3 separate regions of the Homo sapiens genome follow, and all the other regions are linked to region 1. The links are contacts of gene promoters, found by promoter capture Hi-C in blood cells and fetal thymus (Javierre and others, 2016). All regions are on one chromosome and are shown on one strand. The core of a region is centred on a gene start or on the middle of the fragment in contact, and the rest is flanking DNA. Distances in the headings are between cores, read along the strand shown. Region 1 holds the start of FAM167A-AS1 (FAM167A antisense RNA 1). Region 2 has its middle 23 kb from the start of LINC00208. Region 3 overlaps BLK (BLK proto-oncogene, Src family tyrosine kinase).

Region 1 (3,176 bases), core at 221-2,720:
CGTTTATTTATGTTGCATGCTTAATAACAAAATGTTATGCATTTGGAGTTTTGAACTGTTAGGTCAAAGCGTGGATTTTTTTGAAGGCATAACTGGATTTAAAATCTATTTGACTATTAACTGGAGAACTTTTAGGTAATTGAATTGTTTAACAGTTACATTACTGTAGCTTTTTCCTCCACTTAATAAGGTTTATGTTTGTAGATTTTATTTTTTTGTTATTTTTCTTTTGGGCTGCTCTTGAGAGGCAGGAAGATTTTATTTTTTAAAATCAGAAAGTTAGTAATGAATTCTTTTTTTGAAAGTTTGAGATATAGTTTACATACCATAAAATTCACTCATTTATAGTTCTGTGGTTTTCAATGTATTAAAAAGTTTTGCAACCATCACTATAATCTAATTTTAGGCCATTTCATCACCCCACAAAGAAATCATATTATATAAGCCCTTCCCACCCTCGGCAACCACTAATGTACTTCTTCTGTCCCTGGGTTTGTCTGTTCTGAGCATTTTATGTAAGTGGAATGTGGTTGTCTTTTAGTGGCTTCTTTAATTAAGCAGTCCATTTTCAAGGTTCATCCATGTTTTAGCATGTATCACTACTTCATTTTTTATTGCTAAGTAATATTCCATTGTATGAGTAATCCTCTTATTTTCTCTATCCATTCATCCATTGAGGGACATTTAGGTTTTTTGCACTTTTTAAGCTATTATGAATAATGCTGCTGTGAACATTTGGGTAGATAATTGAGTTTTAAAATGATTGCTTACTGTTTATAGTTTAAAAAACAGTTCTTAAGTTTGATTAATTTATTCTCAGTTATCTTAAAGGAACAAGCAATTCTTCCCTTTCATAAGATAAGAAGCAGCAACTCGAGTGACCTTTGTCTCCTAGACCCTAACCTTCCAGCATTTCTACCAGGCTCCTAGAATGACCTTTAATTCGGATCATTTGGAGGGGTTTGTTCCAAACAGGTTCCTTGAATCTTTCCCAATCTGTAAACACACCTCCAGGAGATCTCAAATAAGAGTGAAAAAATAATGAATGCTTCAGCTTCTTTGGATGATTCTTATTCACTGACATCTTTGTACTCCAAGACTAGAATTAGAGTTGTCCCTTCTGTCTGAACACTCAGTATCTGGTGCACATCTTGGGATCCCGGAGCCCATCAATGTTTTCCTGTAAAATGCTTTCCGTTCTGTTGGGAGAAAGGGTTTTTTATGATTAATTTGGAAATAACCCAAAAAGCTATTTGAAGGAAAAGTGGGTTTAACCACAAAAATAGTTTATTTATAAATAAAAAAGAAAGAATACAAAGATTGGCTTTGTTCTGATGTTTTACACAGGCTACCGGTGGTTATTAGTTTTCTGCTCACATGTTTGTGTGTGGCGTTGCTGGGATGTGCCTTGTGTTGCTACACAAACAGCGATCCCGAAGTCTGCCAGCAAGATAGATGGCCTGGAGTCCAGAACAGACTGGATTAGTGAAAGCTACTGCAGTGCTTTGGACACTTACTATGGTAGGTGGGAGATATTTAGTATTTTTTAATTCACATAGGCCAAATCACCAATTTGTGATTGTATTTTATGGTAAGGGTGTTCAGAAAATGCTTTAAATTCTGTCATTTTAAAAAAATGTTTATTAAGAGTTCAGACAATTTAAAAGATATATAATAAAGTTGTCTTCCCCTCCAAACCCAATCAATAACATGTTAGCAGTGTAGTGTGGGACCCAGTGCAGTGGCTCACACCTGTAATCAGTACTTTAGGAGGCTGAGGCAGGAGGATTGCTTAAAGCCAGGAGTTCAAGACCAGCCTGGACAACATAGCAAGACTCTCATCTCTACAAAAATAATTTAAGCCAGATGTGGTGATGCACACCTGTAGCTGCTACTCACGTGGCTGAAGCTGAGGGATCACTTGTAGCCAGGAGTTTGAGGCTGCAATGAGCTATGCTTGCGCCACCATACTCCAGCCTGAGCCACAGAGCGAGACCATCTCAAACAACAACACACAAAAAAACTAGTGTATACCTTTTATTTTCTCCTGTGCTTATACAATCTAGGAGTGGAAGGTGAAACCTTTTTCTTTTCTTTTACTATAAAAGTAGTGCTAAGACAATATTGTCAAAAGTTTTGGAAAAGACTCACTTTCAATTTTTGCCATGTCACATGGTAGCTGTTTTAAAATATTCTCCAGTCCTCTATGCGTTACAAAGAACTTACATGTAGTTTTAACATTTGCCATTTAAAGATAGCTGCATAACTCGTTGAATGGAGTATCATAATGATGTCATTCTATTTAATTGCTGAAACCTAGAAGTACAATTACTGGGTCACAGGGCGTAAACACCTACTTGCCTCTTCATTTTATGTGGTCAAATTTATCTTCGGAACGAGTTGGATTAATTTGTGATGAAATTCTCGACCATCAACACCTTCCTCTTGGCACATATTCATGGACCTCAGTATGGTTTACATTTGTTGAAAAGTTTTATTTTTGTGGCTGGGTGCAATGACTCATACTTGTAATCCCAGCACTTTTGGGAGGCTGAGGCAACAGGATCAGTTGAAAGTTTTATTTTTCTAAAAGGTTTGAAGAATATAAACTTCATTTTTTGCTGGAGAATCTTAACATTCTAATACAAGAGCCGTGAGTGAATAAATCCTAGATCTCACATAACCGGATGATAACTGCCTCTAAATCAGTGAATTGCTTCCAAAAATCACCGGTGAGAAAGGAATCTTGTTTTTTAATGATTTTTTTTTAGGGTAGTCACTTTAAAAAAAATTATTTCATGGCACTGTTTTTATAGCTTTAGTATGTTTGTCTATAAGGTAGCTAAACAGGCCACCCCTTACCTTCCAATGTGAAGATCCCAGAAAACTTTTTTTTAGCCAACTTACATATATAAAGTTTAGGATTGTAGATGAGAGGATAAAATAGACACCTGTACTATTAGTTGCAGGTGTTTCAGATTTGTTAATCTATTAACCAGCATGTGGGCTTTCCCTCTTCACATTCGCATTTCAGGCATGTCACTCCGACTTCGTATTTGATCTTGGTGCCCCCTTTGGCATCCCCTAATAGGTTAAGAGCAGATGATCTTTTTTCTTTCTAAGTTGTTTGGGATGCAGCAGTTTCGGGGTCTATGTATGATGCTGTTGGTGGACAT
Region 2 (3,176 bases), core at 329-2,828, 230 kb after region 1:
GAAGCCCTAAGCCCCTGACCTCAGAATGTGACTGTACTTGGTCTTTGGGGGTAAAGTAAAATGAGGTCATGTGGGTGGGCCCAAATTCAATATGGCTGGTGTCCTCATAAGGAAAGGAGATTGGCTGGGTGTGGTGGCTCATGCCTGTAATCCTAGCACTTTGGGAGGCCGAGGTGGGTGGGTCACATGAGGTCAGGAGTTCAAGACAAGCCTGGCCAACATGGTGAAACCCTGTCTCTACTAAAAACACAAAAATTAGCTGGATGTGGTGGTGCATGCCTGTAATCCCAGCTACTCGAAGGCTGAGGCAGGAGAATCGCCTGAACCTGGTAGGTGGAGGTTGCAGTGAGCCAACATCTCTCCACTGCATGCGTGGGTGACAGAGCAAGACTCTGTCTTAAAAAAAAAAAAAAAAAAAAAAAAAAAGGAGATTAGGGTCTGGGTTTCATGGCTCAAGCCTGCAATTCCAGCATTTTGGAAGGCCAAGGCAGGCAGGTCACCTGAGGTCAGGTGTTCGAGACCAGCCTGGCCAACATGGTAAAACCCCATCTCTACTAAAAATACAAAAATTAGCTGTGCATGGTGGTACCTACTCGGGAGGCTGAGGTAGGATAATCGCTTGAACCTGGGAGTTGGAGGTCGCAGTGAGCTGAGATCAAGCCACTACACTCCAGCCTGGGTGACACGGCAAGACTCTGTCTCAAAAATAATAATAATAAAAGAAAAGGAGATTAGGCCACAGAAACACAGAGGGATGACCATGTGAGGACACAGCAAGAATGTGGCCATCCACAAACCCAGGGGAGAGGCCTCAGGAGAAACCAACCCTGCCGGCACCTTGAGCTTGGACTTCTAGCCTCCAGAACAGTGAGAAGATGAACGGCTGGTGTTGAAGCCACCTGGTCTGTGGGACTTTGTCATGGCAGCCTGAGCTGATTAATGCAGGTTTCATGCCAGCTTCAATTCAATTCAAGAAATGCAAATCTCCCAGCCACTGTCCTCTAGGCATTAGGCTGGATAGTGTGGATTCAAAGAGGAAACCCTGGAGGAGGGCGTGCTTGAATACAGGATCTGAAAAGCTGGAGGAGAGAATTCATTTGCACAGGCCTCAGAAGACATACAGAGTGTGGCCTGGTGAATTAGGAGGGACTGTCAAGGAATTCTCCTCAGAGGAGGTGAAATAGGAGCAAATTTCGAAGGCATATTAAGGTTTGGCCCACCAGTCAGGCAGAGAGGGGGGAAGGATCACAGAGCAAAGTGAGCCGTGGGTGCAGAGACTGCCTGTGAAAAGGCACAGCTGCGTGGGTGGAATGGGTGGTGGGAGGCTCAGAACTGCTCCCTCTGCTTGTGCTGCTGTAACAAAATACCATAGATTGGGTAATTTATAAAGAAGAGAAATGGATTCCTCACAGTTCTGGAGGCCGGAAGTCTGAGATGAAGGGGCCGACACTGGTGTCTAGAGAGGGCTGCTCTCTGCTTCCATGGTGGCGCCTTCCTGCTGCGAGCTTACCTGGCGCATGCTCACCTGGCACCTTCTCACCTGGCGGGAGGGGGAAAGGCCTCAGCTGGCCCCGGACTGCCCCTTGATGAGGCATGAATCATTCATAAGGGAGGAGCCCTCACAGCCTCATCACCTCCTGAGGCCCTCACCCCTTTATACTGCCACCGTGGGGATTAACTTTCAGCATGAATTTTGGAGGGGACACATTCAAACGACAGCACTCTCCAAACTTGGTTTCTCCATCTGTAAATGGGATAATAATATCTCAGGCAGTTGGCATAAGGGTCAGCTGAGACAACAGGGAAAGAAGAATGTTTATGGCAAAGCACTCCCAGAGATGACTTCAGATGAAGCCATCACAAGCCTTCTGATTTTTCATTCAACTCACCCACCTCCCACCTGTAACCCTTATTTGGCACAGGAGTCCATCAAACCAGGCCAGGCACAATTGTTTTTTGTTTGTTTGTTTGTTTGTTTTGAGATAGGGTCTCACTCTGTCATCCAGGCCGGAACACAGTGGTGTGGTCAGGGCTCACCACAGCCTTGGACTCGTGGGCTCATGCGATCCTCCCTCCTCGGCCTCCTGAGTAGCTGGGACTACAGGTGCACACCACCACACTCAGCTAATTTTTGTATTTTTTTGTAGAGACAAGGTTCCATGTTACCCAGTTGGTCTCAAATTCCTGGGCTCAAGCAATCTACCGGCCTTGGCCTCCCAAAATGCTGGGATTACATGCGGGAGCCCCCAATGGCCAGCCGGATTGTTTTTAATAAACTTTCTATTTTAGCATAGATTTAGATTTATGGAAAAGCTGCAAAGATAGTACAGAGAGTTCCCACATTCCTCCACGCAGTTTCCATCATTGTTAACATCTTACATTAGTATGTTAAACTTGTCAAATTAATGCACCAATACTATTATTGATACGTTACTACAAACTAAAGTCCATATTTTTTCAGATACTTAGTTGTCACCTAATGCCCTTTTTTTTCTTCCATGACCCTGGAGTATATGTCATCATCATGCCTCCTGAGGCTCCTCTTGGCTGTAACCGTTCTAGCCTGATTTTTGAATTCCAGGACACGGCATTTGCTAAGAAATGTACCTATGTATAGAAGTAGGAATGAGGGAACAGTTGGAGGATTTTTGGAGAAAAGCACATTATTTTTCAGCATTGTATCATTTGGCGAATCAACAACACGTGTTTGTTACAAATGAGACTATCTGTTCGCTGAAGGAGCCCTAAAGAGCCTGTGTTTATGATATTCTCAGTTCACTTTATCCTTTGCACTAAAAAATACTGATTTACATGTGTACATACACATAGACACACGCACACACACGCAATTTTAGAATTCACTCGTGTGATAGCCCCAGTCCTTCCCAATAGCCTGTCTCTGGCCCCAGGTGTTCTGTGTTCTCAGACTGTCTGAGCCCCTGTTCCTTGGAGGGTGAAAGGCTGCCTCCCTTGAGCCCAGAGGCCCAGGGTCAGTACACACTCAGCTGCATTCTCTCTGGGGCCCTCTGCCGTGGGCAGCACCGTACCCGATCCAGGCAGAACTGGACTCTTCCACTCTGAACCTCACGGCCTTGGAAGGGAGAGTGGGTGGGGGCTGTTCCTCAAAGGCTAGAGGGCATCACAGCAGCTCCTGCCTCCAGGCTGCAAAGGGGTCA
Region 3 (3,176 bases), core at 221-2,720, 170 kb after region 1:
ACACACATATATACACACACATATTCAAGCACATACACACATGTGTATTCACACGCATGCTCTCGCTCTCACACACACACAAGTGCACATAAGTGTGTATGCTTCCTCTCCCACTCTCTCACAAACATACACAGACTCACACCCTTCCCACAATGCAGCAAAGCCATCTGGAGCCCCAGCCAGTGTGTGATGCGTTTTGCCTCTGTCTGGACTTCTGCACTTCCTGGCTTCACCCAACCTGAAACTGCTGGGTGCAGCCCGAGCACCAGTGACAGCCCTGGTTGTCCCATGGCCTCTTGAGGAACCCAGGTCTCCAGTCAAAGCCACTGGAGTAGGGGGACCCATAGAGACCTGAGGTACTCATGAGACCCATGGAAAATCATCTGCACACACACTGCTAAGGAGTCAAAGGACAGAAGTGTAAGTAGTGGGTCATTTAATCTTAGGAATTTTACTTTCTGTCCGGTTCTTTGTTCAATAAATTGAACAACCAATGTTCAATTATGTTGTCTCAGTGGACACAGGTGTTTGCCAGGAAGCTTAAAGTCAATGGCAATATGGCTGGCCAGACTAAGAAAGACAAGAGGGCTGGTCACCTGGGCAGATGCGGAAGTATGAGTCCAAGTCTGGGGAATATACTAGGAGCTGCTGACCACTGGCCCTTCGTTGAGTCAGGGAGGCTGAGAGAGGCCACGAAAGGCCTGAGGTTCAGGCAGCCCTGGCTGGCCACTTAACGGTCATTGTCAAGAACTGCAGGCTGGCCCTGGCTCCAGGCCTTATGCTCCTCTGTTGCTGGGCAAATCACTCAAATCCTCCTTTTATTTTTCTGCTTGTATCAATAATATATGCTTAGTATTAAAGAATTTAAGAAATATATACAATTAAAAGAAAGAAAGTCAAAGTCACATGAAGTCTTATAATCCAAAATCCATTTAGAAAATACTTTGGTGGGACCTGCTTTGCATTAGCACACACACCGTTTTTTAAGTCCGCTGGTTTTTTTTTTGTTTTGTTTTGCCTTACACCACACCTCTGTTTTGTACTCTCCCTTCCTCTAACAATAACCACAGTAAACAACTTGGTGTTCATCCTCCCCAGCCTCTTTCTGTGTAATATGCAAACATATCTACACGCCTGAATAGAGGTTTCTTTTCATTTGGTGTTTGCAAATATGGGATTCCCTCATGCACCTCTTTGGGTCTTACTTTTCTCGTGTAACAACATGGTACCGAAATTCCTCTTGACCTCACTGGTGAAGATCCAGCACATTTTTTTTAGTAGTTGTATGAGAGATTTATAGAGTGTAGATTTATTCAACAAGTCTTCAATTGCTGGGCAGTTACATTGTTGTTTTCTGTTTGGGATTTTTTTTCGGGGGAGGGGATTGTTTTTCCAACTATTACTACAACAAACATTTTCATCTCTCACATGTGTCTATATAATGATGTTTTATTAACCTGAGATAGTCCAGAGTGGGACTGAAAATCAAAAGGTATGTGTGCTTTTTTATTTTAACAGAATTTAAAAGATTGCCCTTTAAAAGAATTTAAAAGATTGCTTCTTCCAATAATATTTCATGTTTTGTCTAATAAATATTTATTAAGCCCACACTCTGTGCCAGACATTGGTTTAGCAATTTGGATTCAGCAATGAATAAAACAAAGATTCCAGCTCTCACAGAAGATTAATCCTAGAAATGGAGCGTGAAGGAACAAATGAAACAATAATTATAACAAACATTTTACTATTTGGGTTTGTGTTGCACTAACTTCCTATTTCTTATCTTTACACATTTTTCTATTGAATGAATTATATGCTGCAATATACTTCCTGTCAAAAGTTTATGAGCTTTGTATATATTATGAATACACATTTATCTGATGCTTTGCAATCTCTTACCCAATCTATTGCTTATCTACGAACTTCATGAGTAGTTTCTTATACCATCTAATATTTTTAATGTTTATGAATTTGTACTTTTTTTGTTCTCTCTTCGCTTCTGGGTATTTTATCTTTGTTAGTAGTTGTCTCCAAACTCTGGGTTATATACACAGTTTCTTACATTTCTTTTAATTACATTTTTGTTTTTTATTTTTTTCAGTCATACACCTAGAATTTATTTTTTAATATCATGTGAGGTAGGGGTTCAATTGTATTTTCCTTAAGGTAAATAGTCATTTTCCTAATACCATTTATTAAAATAAACTATCCACTTTCTACTGAATTAAAATGCTATCTTTTTCACATACGCGATTCCTGTATTTACCAAAATCTGTTTGTATGTTTTTTATTCTGCTCTGATGATTGTTGTCTACTTTTATTATTCCAATTTCATGCGGTTTTGATTACAATCTTCTATTTCATAATTATAAAGCTAGGTTAAGACTTAATTTAGTCATGTAAAGCTTCAGATGATTTTATGCAATTACAAATTATAATTTTAATTAAAAGAACATTCCATTTATATTAGGAACAAGAAAAACATCACAATCAAAAAAGAGAACAGAGTATAATAATTACAAGACAATGCTACATAAAACTATGGCAACAGATTGGAAAATGTAGATGAAATTAAAGATCTATAAACCATATAAATCATCAAAATGGCACAAAGAGGAGAAAAAATGGGAATAGATCATTCCTATAGAAGAAATTGGAAATGTCTTTAAAGATTTACTATTTGAAAGGGCCCCAGACACAGATGGCTTCACAACTGAGTTCTATTTAGCCTGTGAGGAACAGATAACCCCACTGTTATGAAACCACTCAAGAAGATAGAAAAAAAAAAAAAAGAGAGCTCCTCAATATCTGTTACAAAGCCAGCGCACCTTAATGCTAATGCCTCATAGACAAATCTCCCTTGGGAATACAGATTCTCATTCTAAATAAAATATTAGCAAATAGGGCCGAGTGTGATGGCTGACACCTGCAATCCCAGTACTTTGGGAGGCTGAGATGGGCAGGTCACTTGAGCTCTGGAGTTTGAGACCAGCCTGCATGACATGGCAAAACCCTGTCTCTACCAAAAAATAAAAAATTTAGTAGGGCATGGTAGCACATGCCTGTCATCCCAGCTACTCGAGAGGCTGAGGTGGGAGGATCACCTTAGCCTTGGGAGGCAGAGGTTGCAGTGAGCCAAGATTAGGTCGTGGGACTCCAGCGTAGGCAACAGAGTG

The links. Contacts are between HindIII fragments. The CHiCAGO score rates a contact against its expected background, and 5 or more counts as called.
Region 2: a contact is called between a fragment that was not itself captured here and the fragment with the promoter of FAM167A-AS1 in region 1, in 1 of 17 cell types (naive B cells). The highest score is 5.5, in naive B cells.
Region 3: a fragment that was not itself captured here is called in contact with the fragment with the promoter of FAM167A-AS1 in region 1 in 1 of 17 cell types (M2 macrophages); the score reaches 5.6 in M2 macrophages.

What each region holds. Positions count from the first base shown.
Region 1 is chr8:11,366,932-11,370,107 of GRCh38, forward strand. FAM167A-AS1 (FAM167A antisense RNA 1) reads left to right here and starts at 1,471. Exons shown (of 7, transcript NR_026814.1): 1 at 1,471-1,521. It also overlaps the pseudogene TDH. The HindIII fragment of the contact is 6,691 bases long and covers 1-3,176 here.
Region 2 is chr8:11,598,145-11,601,320 of GRCh38, forward strand. No RefSeq gene overlaps it. Among named protein-coding and RNA genes, the nearest start is that of LINC00208, 23 kb to the left of the region's middle. RefSeq lists an enhancer at 1,294-2,130. The HindIII fragment of the contact is 6,914 bases long and covers 1-3,176 here.
Region 3 is chr8:11,538,080-11,541,255 of GRCh38, forward strand. All of the region lies in intron 1 of BLK (BLK proto-oncogene, Src family tyrosine kinase), which reads left to right. Among named protein-coding and RNA genes, the nearest start is that of BLK-AS1, 19 kb to the right of the region's middle. RefSeq lists a silencer at 85-249 and an enhancer at 932-1,011. The HindIII fragment of the contact is 1,866 bases long and covers 538-2,403 here.